3 separate regions of the Homo sapiens genome follow, and regions 2 and 3 are each linked to region 1. Evidence: promoter capture Hi-C in 16 types of primary human blood cells and fetal thymus (Javierre and others, 2016). All regions are on one chromosome and are shown on one strand. Each heading gives the region's core, a stretch centred on a gene start or on the middle of the fragment in contact. The rest is flanking DNA. Distances are from core to core; before and after follow the strand shown. Region 1 holds the start of EFCAB9 (EF-hand calcium binding domain 9). Region 2 overlaps FBXW11 (F-box and WD repeat domain containing 11). Region 3 overlaps FBXW11 (F-box and WD repeat domain containing 11).

Region 1 (4,506 bases), core at 1,768-4,267:
GTGGTGGTGCGTGCCTGTGGTCCCAACTACTCATGAGACTCAGGCACAAGAATCCCTTCAACCTAGGAGACGGAGGTTGCAGTGAGCCGAGATCACACCACTGCACTCGAGCCTGGGCAACACAGTGAGACTCTGTCTCTAAACAAAAACAAACAAACAAAAACCCAAAAAACAACAACCACAAAAATCAAGAATCAAAAGCTTGTTCTTGGTGAAAGACATCAGTCTGTGTGGTTTTACAAATAATTTCTTTCTTTATATAAATTATTTTAAAAGATAGAAAATGAAGGAAATCTGCCAATTTATTTTATAAGATGAGTTTTACTATTACTAGATAAGGACAGTAAAAGAAAATTGTAAGCCAGGCACAGTGGCTTACACCTGTAATTCCAGCACTTTGGGAGGCTGAGGTGGGAGGATCACTTGAGCCCAGGAGTTCCATACCAGCCAGAGCTATAAAGTGAGACCCTGTTTCTACAAAAAGTCAAAAAATTAGCCAGGCGTGGTGGTGCACACCAGTGGTCCCAGCTACTCAGGAGGTTGAGGCAGGAGGATTCCTTGAGCCCAGGAGGCCGAGGCTGCAGTGAACAGTGATCTCACCGCTGCACCAGCCTGGTCTCCAGTGAGACCCTGTCTTAAAAAGGAAGGGAAGGAGAGGAAAGAGAGAGAGAGAAAGAAAATTGTAGACTAATTTCATTTCATTTTTTTTTTTTTTTTTTTTTGACAGAGAGAGTCTTGCTGTGTCGCCAGGCTGGAGTGCAATGGTGTGATCTCACCTCACTGCAACCTCCACCTCCCAGATTCAAGCGATTCTCCCGCTTCAGCCTCCCAAGTAGCTGGGACTACAGGAACGTGCCACCACGCCCGGCTAATTTTTGTATTTTTAGTGGAGATGAGGTTTCACCATGTTGGCCAGGATGGTCTCAATCTCTTGACCTCGTGATCCGCCCGCCTCAGCCTCCCAAAGTACTGGGATTACATGTGTGAGCCATCACGCCCGGCCTAATTTCAGTTCTTAAAAAGACAGGGAAAATACAAATGCTAGCAAGATCAAACCAGAGGTGAATAAAAATATCGTAACCACAAAAGGTTTATCCAGGAATAAAAGAATGGTTCTACATCAGAAAATCTACTGTAATAGCACTGCATTGGCAGAGTAAAGGAGAAAAATCACATAGTCTTAATAGTCACAGAAAAAGCATTTTATAGTATTCTTAGGTTGGATTCCCTTAGAGACTGACCCTGAGGCAAGGATTTGAGTGTAAGTGGTTTATTTGGGAGTGAGTAGGGAGTAGAAAATTAAGACAGAGGAGGGGCTGGGCACCATGGCTCACACCTGTAATCCCAACACTTTGGAAGGCTGTGGTGGGAGGATAGCTTGAGGCCAGGAGTTCAAGACCAGCCTTGGCAATGTAGCAAGATCCTATCTCTACAAAAAATACAACGTGGTAGCACATGGGCATAGTCCCAGCTATGAGGAGGTGGAGGTGGGAGGATAGCTTGAGCCTGGGATTCAAGGCTGCAGTGAGGTATGACCATACCACTGCACTCCAGCCTAGGAGACAGAGTGAGATCCTGTCTCAAAAAAAAAAAAAAGAAAAAAGAAAAAAAAAATTAATGTCAGGGCACAGTGGCTCATACCCGTACTCCCAGCACTTTGTGAGGCCAAGGCGGGTGGATCACTTGAGGGCAGGCATCAAGACCACCCTGGCCAACATGGTTAAACCTCATCTCTACTAAAAATACAAAAATTGGGCTGGGTGCAGTGGCTCACGCCTGTAATCTCAGCACTTTGGGAGGCCGAGGCAGGCGGATCACAAGGTCAGGAGATGAAGACCATCTTGGCTAACACGGTGAAACCCGTGTCTACTAAAAATACAAAAATTAGCCGGGAGTGGCGGAGTGTGCCTGTAGTCCCAGCTGCTGGGGAGGCTGAGGCAGGAGAATGGTGTGAACCTGGGAGGTGGAGCTTGCAGTGAGCCGAGATCGCGCCACTGCACTCCAGCCTGGGAGACAGAGCGAGACTCCATCTCAAAAAATAATAATAATAAAAATAAAATAAAATAAAAAATAAAAAATAAAAACAAAAATTTAGCTGGGCGTGGGGGTGCATGCCTGTAATTCCAGATACTCGGGAGGCTGAGGCAGGAGATTCGCTTGAATCCAGAAGACAGAGGTTGCCGTGAGTCAAGACTGTGCCATTATAGTCCAGCCTGGATGATAAGAGTGAAACTCTGTCTCAAAAAAAGAAAAAAAAGAGGCAGGGCTCAATGGTTCAGACCTGTAATCCCAGCACTTTGGGAGGCCAAGACGGGCGGATCACAAGGTCAGGAGATGAAGACCATCCTGGCTAACGTGGTGAAACCCCGTCTTTACTAAAAATACACAAAATTAGCCGGGCGTGTTGGTGGGCGCCTGTCGCCTGTAGTCCCAGATACTCAGGAGGCTGAGGCAGGAGAATGGCGTGAACCCGGGAGGCGGAGCTTGCAGTGAGCAGAGCTCGCGCCACTGCACTCCAGCCTGGGTGACAAGGCAAGACTCTTGTCTCAATTAAAAAAAAGAAAAGAAAAAAGAAAAACTTCCTCTCTTTGGCATTATTATACTGTAGTTATTCTAGGCTCTTTTAGTACTTTTCCATGTGTTTTTCAATTTTTCTTCTTTCTAATAAATGATTTAGGCTATAAATGCTCTGAAAACCACTTGGGCTGTGTAGCAGTTTTCCTATGTAGCACATTCTCTCATTCATTTCTGAACAGCCTGTGGATCTCCTTTAGAACTGATTGTATTTTAGTGACATAAGGATAATCACGTTACCAAGAGGTTTCGGACAGCAGATATCTATCTATAGCATAGCTGGAAAAATTAAGAAGCAGCAATTTTAATTTTTGACTGTTTCCTCTGACGTGTTTACCTTCACTGCTGCCAGATCTCAGACACTATATCCAACATTCTACTTCTGAGGCAGGGTTCTGTATTCTATTTCTGGTTGCCAGAGCCTTCAGTTGACACAGTACTAAGATGAGACTGAAGCAAGGATCGTTTCTGTGGTACCTCTATCTGGACAAAATATACTGCTTATTATCCGTGAGAAACGTGAAGGCTTTGGCAGAATATTTTCATATTCTGGACGTGCACGGCAAGAACACCTTGAATGGTCAGTACTTTCAGACATGTCTCCTCTGGGTCCTTACCTGGGTTTTAGCTAATGTGTAAGAAAACTTGCAGAGCCAGAAACTATTTTGTTAGTACATTTTTTTTTTTTTGAGACGGAATCTCGCTCTATTGCCCAGGCTGGAGTACGATGGCGCGATCTCAGCTCACTGCAATCTCCGCCTCCAGGGTTCAAGCAATTCTCCTGCCTCAGCCTCCTGAGTAGCTGGGATTACAGGTGTCTGCCACCACGCCTGGCTAATTTTTTGTATTTTCGGTAGAGATGACCAGACCATGTTGGCCAGGCTGGTCTCAAACTCCTGACATCAGGTGATCCACCCGCCTCCGCCTCCCTAAGTACTGGGATTACAAGTGTGAGCTACCACACCCGGCCTGTTAGTAAATATTTTATCTTCTAGTTGAAGCACAGAGAGAAGTTGCCAACTCAGAATTGACACGGGGGACAGTTCAGCCGGGAGGAGAAAATTGCAGACTCTGGTGGAATCCTGGCTCCACACCCATTATTCCTTGGTGATGTGGATAACACGTCATCGCCCTCTCTAAGTCTCATTTTCCTCATCTAGAGGTGAGGCTTCTCATAATGGAGTCCATCTCATAGTTGGAAAAAAAAAAGATAATGAGAGTATGGCAAATGCTTAGCACAGTGTCTGACACATCGTAAGGACTTAATAAGTGTTTGTTATTATTGTAATTATTATTCTTGGGAGCTGAGCCCCACTCAGGCATTAACTCTGGAGACCCCTCAGCAAGATTTATCTGTCATGTGGGAAGTTTGAATCTGATGAGCTGCAGGATCCCTTCTACTTATTGGTACTTGTGAATGACCAAAAATAAATAAATAAATAAATAAATAAATAAAAATAAATAAATAAATAAATAAATATAAAAGCTGCAGATCTCAGCCATGCTTGTTGAGTTCACAAACTAATAGAAGTCCAATTAAACACTTGAGGTTATTTTTAGGACTGAGTAGAAATAAGGTATCCTATCCATTCACTCGTTCTGACCTCAGAGAGAGAAATGTCATCCGTGAGTAAGGGGTTCCTCCGTCATGATTTTAAGGAGTTCATTCAATTTTTAAAAACAATTAAAAAAGAACACCTTCTTTCTCTCTTTACATAGAGATTTATGTACAGTGCATTGCCAAATCTTCGCAATAACCCTGCCCTAGATAAGGCAGCTGCAGGGGACCTAGTTGTAAATAAAAGGCTGAGATGGAAACGCAGGGCTCTCTGCCTGCAAAGCCCATGCTGAGTCTCTCTGGGATGCTTGAGGAGTTTAAGCTCCCTGGTAACCTCCCTGCTGATGCAGTACCCAGGAGGTAACGCCATGCTC
Region 2 (5,110 bases), core at 2,303-4,802, 300 kb before region 1:
ACCAAAAAAAAGTGGGCTGCAACAACAAATACATATATTCTCACAAAGTTGCCAGAAATTGTTGTCTCAGTCTAGGCTGATATTTAATGCTAATAAGCCTGAGCCTTCCCTAACCATTCCCAGGAAGAGGCTCAGCCTTCAAATGGAATCCAACTATTACCTTAATGCCAGCAGCAGGAACAGAGGTCATACACAGGTGCACCTCTTTATATGGATACCTATCATTTCACTTAGCCATCATGTGGTATGGCTACTGTAGAGGAATATTTCATGTTTTTGAGAACTTGTAAAATCCCCTTACCCTGCGCAAATTTTCAAAATACTGGGAAAGTAGCCATGATACACAGAGTATACAGCGGCATTTAAATTGGCAATAGAGTGAAAACAGATGTCTGAGTATGGAGGAATAACATTATTTTTAGAAGCCTAAACACAACTGGGTGGGTGGGCAAGTTTTGACATTTTCTGGTCAGGACAATGTTAATATCAGGTTTGCAAACCACAAAAAAGCTCCCCACTTTCCCTGAATAAAATGTGGCTTATTAAAAGGTGTGATACAACACACCATCATCTTCCCAGTGTCTGTCCAAGAAGAGCACTTCGGAGGCGTTAATGCAATGAATGAAGAGAGGAAGAAGGTAGATTACTTGAAGGAGTTTGTCACTACTCAAATGGCAAAAGAGAAAAATCCAAGTTCAGAATACCAGAACTCTAGGGCTGTTATAACAACTCCTATCTCTCTGTTAATAGACAATTGGGGGCACGCTAGAGTGAAAGCAGCATGGGCTTTGAAGTAAGAATCTCAGCTTTGACAATTCGAGGATTAAATTAAATCACTTGTAGCAAAGTATCCAGCAGTCAGCCCACCATTAATGGTAACAACAACAATAATAACAGCAACAACTAAGACTCTAGACAGCAAAGGAGAATATGGCTGCTTCTTTTAGGAGCGAGCCTCAGGTTTTCTAGGAATTCCTTCTCAATTCAGAGGCCCTCTAAACCCTCTCTATGTGTGGCAAGAACACCCAGGCGAGATGAGCCTTTGCAGAAAGCTTACAATACTTATTTATTCTCCCCAGACTCCATTTCTCACATCCTCATTTCCTGAATAACAGGAGTTGGCTGCACTAAGCCAGGTTCTCTATTTTCCCTTAAAATTAAGCCAATTTTCGGTGGGTCAATGTAGAAGCGCAGATTCAGAGATGAACATTTCCTTTCTCCTCATCAGAGCCAAATCTGGGAACGTACAGATTACAGGAGCTGGCACATAAGCCAAGCTGTCGAGGTGGAGGAAGAAGGAAAAAAAGAAAAAGGTGTTGTGAACTGGCAACCTTGCAAAGTCTAAGGGAAACAACACAAGAGACTCTGAAGCTATGTACAGGCAACTGGGGAGGGAGGGGGGACATAAACAGCCACTTGACATTCCAAGTGTCATTTATCTTTCTGCAATGTGCTTAAAACCCTACTACTTTCCCATAACTGGACTAAAACAGGGCCCACTAATCAGATCTTAACTCATACCCTTTTTTCAACGAACAGTCAAGGACACTGCGTATTCACACAATTAGAGAAAGAGGCAAAGGCCACCTTGAAATTCAGCAGGCATAAAACATGCCTCTTTCTCCCTCACTTCCTGAATTTTCCACTCTGAAAATGACAAACAACAACTCTCAGCCTGGATAGAGCTAGACAGACCTCAGTTAAAAGCCCATCCCATCTCTTCTACTTAACTATGTAGCAAGTCCTAAAACTTCTTTTAGTCTCAGTTTCCCCTTATTATAAAGATAATAACATGCACCTTGTTGTAAGAATAAAAAACAATCATCTATGTAAATCACCCAACGTGGTTTGATATATGCAAAAACTCGAAGTGGGTATTTGTAATTATTATAGTCTGCTTGTGAGGATTTCATACCAGTCATACGGACAGAGCCAAGCCCGTGAGAGGCTCTCATTTGATCCATGGATCACTGGAAGAACTCTCTACATAAAACTCTATATATTCTGTTTTATTCCAGACAGAATAAAACACACTCTCAAAATGGGAGTAAAAAAAAATCTATTTTGAGGTGGTAGCAGTGGTCTATTGTTAAAAACTCGTATTAAGGGTAGAAGGGTACATGGTTGATCACAGACTCTCAATTACCCACTAGCTGTGTGATCCTGACTAAACTGTTTAACCTTTTTAACCTTCTAAGGTTTCCTCAAATTTAAATAAGTACTTGGCCTACCTTTCAGGTTTTGTCCAAAATGTTAAAAGAGAAAATGCATTATAAAGTAGTTAACAAAGTATCTGGCATAAGTAAATGCTATTAGTGGTACATTACTTTTATGATTATTACTAGTAGCACATATATCAAAGTATAAACATCATCCCTTATATCAAGAGGTCTAGCCCACAAAAATCTGGAGAAGACTTTTGTGGCCAACCAGTGGGTTTTTCCAAACCACACTTTAAGAACCACTGGGTAGACCACCATGATGTAGAGGCTGTGTCGCACAGGGTTTTCCCACAGAGCTGTTTCCCCTCACACCTGCCTCCTCTCCTACTTTAAACTATCATTTCAGCCTGAAGAAGTGATGATGGCAGGTGGTGTCAGATACTGTCATGCCACAGAATACTGAATTCACATTGTCAATTCTAACAGCAGTCATGAGGATTCAATCAAACTATCTATGTTGCCACATCTTCAACCTGATCAGAGTTCTTCAAGGTTCCTGTTTGTTCATAATTAACTTTAAACATCATTCTTTTCAAAGAATTTTTTTGATAAAATTATTCAAAGAAGTCTGGAAATAACTTTGTAAATAGTTGCCCCTCATCAAGTGAAAAAAAAAAACAGAGGGTAATGTAGTTTATAAGATGTGTACATAAGAAATGCCTTAGTACAACTACCTGGGGTAAGAGACAGCCCCATCTCCCCTACAATACACACACATCAACCTAAGATTAAAGTTAACACCATGTCTCAGCCACTAGCACTGTAGGGGCAACTTATTCTAAGTTTGGAACTGCCAATGGTCAATTAATTCTTAAACTTTATGATTTATCTAGTGAAAGTTTTTATTTAACCTCCTTAAAGGGTTACTTTATAGATCATTTCAGAGAGCAGAATATTCAAGACAGTTTGGGCTTTAAATAATGATATTCCAGTCACATTCAGATTTACCATTAATGGAATGATTCCATTATTCACATCTGCCTGGAAGGGTGGTGGGGTCTGAAAAAGCACATGTTTCTCCGTTAATGAATTTTGGCACAATAACTTTTATGTCTATCACCTGGGGGAGAGGATTACTTCACATTTGGGAAACTGAGTATAACTTTATGGGTGATATTGCATTGCCTAGCAAAGGCTAAAGTTTTCTGCCAAGGAGGAAACAGTGAAGTAACCAAGACCTGCCAAGAACACATGTGAAAGAGTTAATGAGAAATGCCTGTGCATGTCTTTCCTGGTTCAAGGAAAAAGGCTAAAATAGTAAAACTGAACTAATTAGAACACATGAACGATATCAAACATCTCCAATGTTTCTCATCAAGTTTACAGAGTTTTACTGGTCTGGTGAAGTTACGCTCAAATCCAAAATGGTCCAGGAGCATAATTTGCCCTATAAAATCCACTTAACTATTGCTTAGAATGATATCTGAGTCATGTTTATGAAAAACTATGAGTAATGTACAGAGAAAACTTGAAATGTGCCTTCTCTAGTTCTCTAGAGATGGCTCAAAAATGTAAAACAATGCTTACTTAAAAAAACGGGGCCTTGGATTTTGGAAAATTTATCAGCTTAGAATAAAAAGATGATTTTAGATTAAGGTTTGAATTAACCGGCAGCCTTGCAGAAGCATTTCATGTTTTAGAAAAGTTAGATATTCTTTGCAAAAGACATTATTTTCTCTGCAGAATAGCTGCAGATTATATACAACATGACACATTTACTCCAAAAGCTCAACTTTTTAAAAAAAATTATTAGTTCTACGATTTTAGACCAAAAGAACACTCTAAGGCAACATAAAAAGTTGAGAACAAGAAACAAAGAGCCCATAAAACAGATAAATCATAAAGTTACCTCTATATCCTGGATAATCTTTGGGTATAATGACCTATAAAATGAATTTGGAGGGCCATCTGTGGGTCTGTTTTTAAACAGGTACTGATCCCTGGCAAATAAAAACAAACAGATGTTACATTTTTGCACATAAAAGGGTGAATTTTATCTAAACATGGTGCTGACAAAGATATATCTTTCATGTCTTTTAATTTGCATTGAGTTTTAACAGTTCAAAAGCAGGATTTCTGACAAATTTACATGTTACAGACAAGTTTAGCTCAATTCACAGCTCTCTAACAAAATCCTGATCGTGTTTTCTGAGTACTAATATGTAACAATCTAGCCTTTCATTCCATAGAGTTTAATAAAAAGCGCTAATGTAGCTTTGTGAAAAATCTAACTTAGTACACATCAAACTTCCTCCCGTAAGGAAAATACAGCCCTATATGCACCTCTGTCTGTAGCTCTCTCTCTTTGCTAACTGGGCCATACAGCATACAGCTAGCTATAAAGCTGCATCAGAGTTATGAGTTTTCTCTGAAAAATCCTATCACTGTTATTACTTCCTCAACCAGCAGTAATAACAAACAGCAAAATGGCACTATCTGACTTTCTCATATTTTTGTCATATCTATATTTTGGTAATGGTATCATCAACTAAGCAAAATGTGAAGGAAAAAACATAAATACATAGCTTTGAAACGCCAAATCCCATCAAACTATATAATACAGTTCATAAAGGAAATACACATTTCAGAGGGAGAAATTTTAACAGCTTTAACTTTTTCTTCCAACTTTTGACCACTCATTTTCCCCCCTTTTTAAAAATAGGCCAGCACATTTGCAAGTATAATTGCATTTTTGAGTAATCAAGCTGACTCTATGTCAATAAAATTTTTTCAAGGGAACAAGCAACCCAAGTACTTACCACCCTCTTCTTTCTGAAAGTCCTTTCCATAGGGGATCAGTGCGTACCATTCGTTCAATCAGCTTCTTCCAAAGCATTCCTTCTGAGATCACTCGCTGCCATTCTTTACATACCAGCTCTGCTGCACAC
Region 3 (5,077 bases), core at 775-3,274, 310 kb before region 1:
TGAGTGTCTCCTCTCTGCTCTGGACCACATAACCAAAAGAAGAAAGCCAGCCTAATACTTGGTATATGCTCTTACAGGAAAGCATGTTGTCATCTCTACAATGAACAGCAATAGGAATAGAACACCCTTAACAAAAATTAGCTTTCCTGCCTAATTTGCGCAAACATGTCTACAATAAAAGTAGTTTGAAATACAGCATGTAAAAATGTAAGTTTGTGTATGCCTCTCCCAGAGGAGGATGTCAATCTCAGACTTTCTCAGGGAAGGCTTACAAGTTAAGAACAATGAAGCCAGATCACTCACCTCACCGTAGAATCTGAAGAGCCAGTTACAATGACACGCTCATCATACTGCAGACAGAGGACAGAGCCTGTGTGTCCTGTTAACACTTTCAAACATTCCAGGCTGGTTTTATCCCATATCTATTGAGACAAGATTAGCCACAAACGATGATTAATTATACTATATTTTGATGAATGTTACTGTCCCACCTTATGTTCTGATTATAAAATAAAACACACTTGGGTTACAGTAAATAAGAAACACTGAATAACAAACAGGTAAGAAATGACAAGAAGGAATACAGACAATAGTGATTAACTACTAGGATAGATGTGCTATTTTGCTTAATTTGAACCCTTAGCTATTGATCTCAGTATACTTATCAACAGCCTCATAAAGGGGACTTCTTAAAAATAAAATCTGTGAAAAGAATTCGCTCACTGACTGGGTGCTGTGGCTCATGCCTATAATCCCAACATTTTGGGAGGCCGAGACAGAAGGATCGCTTGAGCCCAGAAGTTAAAAGACCAGCCTGGGCAACATACCAAGCCAATCTCCATAAGAGTGTGTGAGTGTGTGTGTGTGTGTGTGTGTGTGTGTGTAAGAGAGAGAGAGTGTGTGTGTGTGTGTGTGTGTGTGTGTGTTTTAATTAGCCAGGTGTGGTGGTGTGTGTGCCTGTAGTCCCAACTACTCAGGAGGCTGAGGTGACAGAATTGCTTGAGCCCAGAAGGCAAGGCTGCAGTGAGCCATAATCACACCACTGTACTCCGGCCTGGGCAACAAAGCAGGACTCTGCTTTGTCATTTTATTTTTATGTCTCATAAAAATATTAATGAAAAAGAATTGGCTCACTCTCTGGAAAGCAACATGACAACGTCTATTAAGAGGTTTTACAAATGCATACCCCTACGTTTACAAAAACAAAAAGTGGAAAATGAAATGTCCAGCATTTCATAAAAGTCTCAAAGTAAACTATGAAGTGTTTAATGAGAAAATATCATGCTTTATTACAAAGTTAAGCATTTTAAAAATCAGAACAAAAATTATCTGTAAAGTGACACAATGACTATGTATATTTTAGAAAAGGAAGAAAGGATTAAAGGAGGTAAAATGTTGTGAACAGTTGTTTTCACACTCTGAGTGTTCCTTTTCTCGCTTCTTTTACTGCCTCCATAGACTTGTCTTTTCTAGAATGTCACAGATTTGGAATCATACAGTATGTAGCCTTTTTAGATTGGCTTCTTTCACACAGTAATACACACTTACGGTTCCTCCCTGTCTTTTCATGGCTTGATATACATTCCTTTTTAGTGCTGAAAATTATCCCACTGTCTAGATGTACTACAGTTTATTTATCCATTCACCTACTGAAGGACACCTTGGTTGCTTCCAAGTTTGGGCAATTATGGGTAAAGCTGCCATAAACATCTGGGTGCAGGTTTTTGTGTAGACCTAAGTTTTCAATTCTGTTGTGTAAATACTAAGTGGTATATATGGTAAAAGTATGTTTAGTTTCGTAAGAATGCCAAACTGCCTTCTGAAGTGGCTGTACTATTTTCCATTTCCAACAGCAATGAATGAAAGTTCCTGTTCCTATTGCTCCACATTCTCACCAGCATTGGGTGTTGTCAGTGTTCTGGATTTTGGCCATGCTAACAGGTGTGTAGTAGTGTCTCACTGTTATAATTCACATTTCTCTGATGACTTACAATGTGTAACATCTTTTCACATACTTACAATATGCCATCTGTATATCCTTCTTTGGTGAGATGTCTGTTAAGGTCTATGCCTTATTTTTAAAAATCAGGTTAAGCTAATTGTTTTTTTTCTTACTGTTGAGATTCAAGAGTTCTTTGTATGTCTTTTGCATACATTTTCTCTAGTCTGTGGCTTGTTTTTTCATTCTCCAGACAATGTCTCTCACAGAGCAGAAATTTTTAATTTTAACAAAGTCCAGCTCATTAATTCTTTCTTTCATGGGTCATGGCTTTGGTATTATATCTAAAAAGTCATCAACAAATTCAAGATCATCTAGATTCTCTCCTATGTTACATTCTGTGAATTTTAAGATTTTGTGTTTTACAGTCAGGTCTTTAATCCATTTTGAGTTAATTTTTGTGAAGTATATAGGATCTATGTCTAGACTGTTTAAGGGTAAGGGAGGCAATATGGTGTCTAATTGCTTCTGCCCCATTTGTTGAAGACACAATCTTTTCTCTACTGTATTGTCTTTGCTCCTTTGTAAAAGATCAGCTGACTATATTTATGAAGGTATATATTTCTGGGCTCTCTATTCTGTTCCATGGATCTAGCTGTCCATTCTGTTGCCAGCACCACACCACTGTGATGACTGCAGTTTTACAGTAATTCTTCAAGTAGGGTAGTGTTAGTCCTCTGTCTTTATTCTACTTCAGTATCATGCTGGTTTTTGCTTGTCCATATAAACATTACAGTCAGCTGGTAGATATCCACAAAATCACTTGCTGGGATTTTGATTGAGACTGCATTGAACCTACAGACCAATTTGGGAAGAAATGACTGACATCCTCACAATAGTCTTCCTACCCATGAGCATGAAATATCTCTCCCCATTTATTTAGTTCTTTGATTTCTTTAATCAGTTTTATAGTTTTCTTCACATAGATCTTATAAATATTTTGTTAGATTTATACCTAAGTATTTCATTGGTGGGGGAGGTGCTAATATAAATGTTATTGTGTTTTTTGAGATGGAGTCTCACTCTGTCACCCAGGCTGGAGTGCAATGGCGCGATCTCGGCTCACTGCAACCTCCGCCTCCCAAGTTCAAGCTATTGTCCTGCCTCAGCCTCCTGAGTAGCAGGACTATAGGCGCCCACCACCACACCCGGCTAATTTTTGTATTTTTAGTGGAGACGGAGTTTCACCATGTTGGCCAGGCTGGTCACAAACTCCTGACCTCAGATGATCCACCCACCTCGGCCTCCCTAAAGTGCTGGGATTATAGGCGTGAGCCACCGCGCCCAGCCATGTTATTGTGTTTTTAATTTCACATTCCACTTGTTCATTGCTGCTATATGGGTAAGCAACTGACTTAAGTATATTAACCTTGTATCCGGCAAACTTGCTATAATCATTTATTAGTTCTAGGAGGTTTTTTTTGTTGATGCTTTCATTTTTTTCTACAATCATGTCATCTACAAGCAAAGACAGTTTTAATTCTTCCTTCTCAATTTGTATACCTTGTCTTAGTGTGTTATCTAGGAGTTCTAATACAATGTTGAAACATAGTGGTGAGTGGGGACATCTTTGTCTTATTCCTGACCTTAGTGGGAAAGTTTCACATTTCTCAGCACTGTGTGTGACGTTAGCTATAGGCTTTTTGTAGATACTCTTTATCAAGTTAAGGAAGTTCCCCTCTATTCATAGTTTACTAAGGGTTTTTATCACGAAAGAGTGTTCAATTTTCTCAAACGCCCTTTCTGCATCTATTGACGTGATTTTCTTCTTTGGCTTATTGATATGACGGATTAATTGATTTTTGAAGGTTAAACATGAAGATATTGGTCTGTGGTTTTCTTTGAATGTCTTCATCTAGTTTAGTACTAAGGTAACAATGGCCTCATAGAATGAGTGATGAAATATTCTCTCTTCTTCTATCTTCTGGAAGAGATTGTAGAGAACTGGTGTAATTTCTTACTTAAATGTTTGACAGAATTCACCAGTAACTCATCTGGGCCTGGTGCTGTTTTGGAAAGTAATTAATTATTGACTCAATTTCTTCAACAGATAAAGGCCTATTCAGATTACCTATTTGTTTTTATGTCAATTTTGGAAGACTGTGTCTTTCAGGGAATTAATTCATTTCATATAAATTATCAAATTTGTAAACAGGGAGTTGATCATATTATTTTATTATTCATTTAACGCTCATGAGAGCTATAGTGATGTCTCCTCTTTCATTTCAATATTAGGAATCTGAGTGCTTTTTTTTCTATGTTAGCATAGCTAACGTAATTATCAATTTTACTCATCTTTTCAAAGACACATCTTTTGGTTTCCTTACCTATTTCTATGGATTTCCTGTTATCAATTTCATTGATCTCTGCCCTACTTTTCATTAACTCTTTTATTCTGCTTACTACGGATTTAAACTGTTCTTTTTCTAGTTTCCTAAGGTGGAAGCTTAGATGACTGATTTTTAGTCTTTTTTCTAATATATGCACTCAATACTATAAAATTCTAAGCTTTCACTGCATCCCACAGATTTTGATAACTTGGGCTTTCATTTTCATTTAGTTACACCCACCCACACATGCACACATGTGCACACACACAGCGAAGGAGGAGGGAGAGAAAGTCTCACACCGTCACTCAGGCTGAAATACAGTGACACAATCACAGCTTACTGCAGCCTTTGACCTCCCGGGCTCAGGTGATCCTCCCACCTCAGCCTCTTGAGTAGCTGGGACTACAGACGCATGCCACAATGCCCAGCTAATGTTTTTTAATTTTTTTGTAGAGACAGGGTCTCCCTATGTTTCCCAGGCTTGTCTCAAACTTCTGGGCTCAAGCAATCCTCCCACCTCAGCCTCCCAAAGTGTAGGGATTACAGACGTGAACCACTGTGCCCAGCCTCAAAATATTTTTAAAATTTCTCTTGAGATTTCTTCTTTGATCCATGTGCTATTTAGAATTATGTTATGTAACCTTAAAGTATTTAGGAATTTTTCCAGCTTCTTTTTTTTACTGATTTCTAGTTTATATCCACTGTGGTATGATTGGACATTGTATTAATTTCTAGCCTTTCTTTTTTT

Evidence for each region. The method cuts DNA at HindIII sites, captures the fragments that hold promoters and counts their contacts. A CHiCAGO score of 5 or more calls a contact.
Region 2: a fragment that was not itself captured here is called in contact with the fragment with the promoter of EFCAB9 in region 1 in 2 of 17 cell types (naive CD8 T cells and total CD4 T cells); the score reaches 6.0 in naive CD8 T cells.
Region 3: a contact is called between a fragment that was not itself captured here and the fragment with the promoter of EFCAB9 in region 1, in 1 of 17 cell types (total CD4 T cells). The highest score is 6.1, in total CD4 T cells.

The regions. Positions count from the first base shown.
Region 1 is chr5:172,191,155-172,195,660 of GRCh38, forward strand. It overlaps EFCAB9 (EF-hand calcium binding domain 9), which reads left to right and starts at 3,018. Exons shown (of 4, transcript NM_001171183.2): 1 at 3,018-3,154. The coding sequence starts at 3,019. The HindIII fragment of the contact is 7,932 bases long and covers 200-4,506 here.
Region 2 is chr5:171,894,933-171,900,042 of GRCh38, forward strand. FBXW11 (F-box and WD repeat domain containing 11) reads right to left here. Exons shown (of 14, transcript NM_001378974.1): 5 at 4,982-5,110; 6 at 4,072-4,162. Among named protein-coding and RNA genes, the nearest start is that of FBXW11, 110 kb to the right of the region's middle. The HindIII fragment of the contact is 5,005 bases long and covers 1,051-5,110 here.
Region 3 is chr5:171,877,708-171,882,784 of GRCh38, forward strand. It overlaps FBXW11 (F-box and WD repeat domain containing 11), which reads right to left. Exons shown (of 14, transcript NM_001378974.1): 8 at 304-422. Among named protein-coding and RNA genes, the nearest start is that of SMIM23, 94 kb to the left of the region's middle. The HindIII fragment of the contact is 4,838 bases long and covers 1-4,443 here.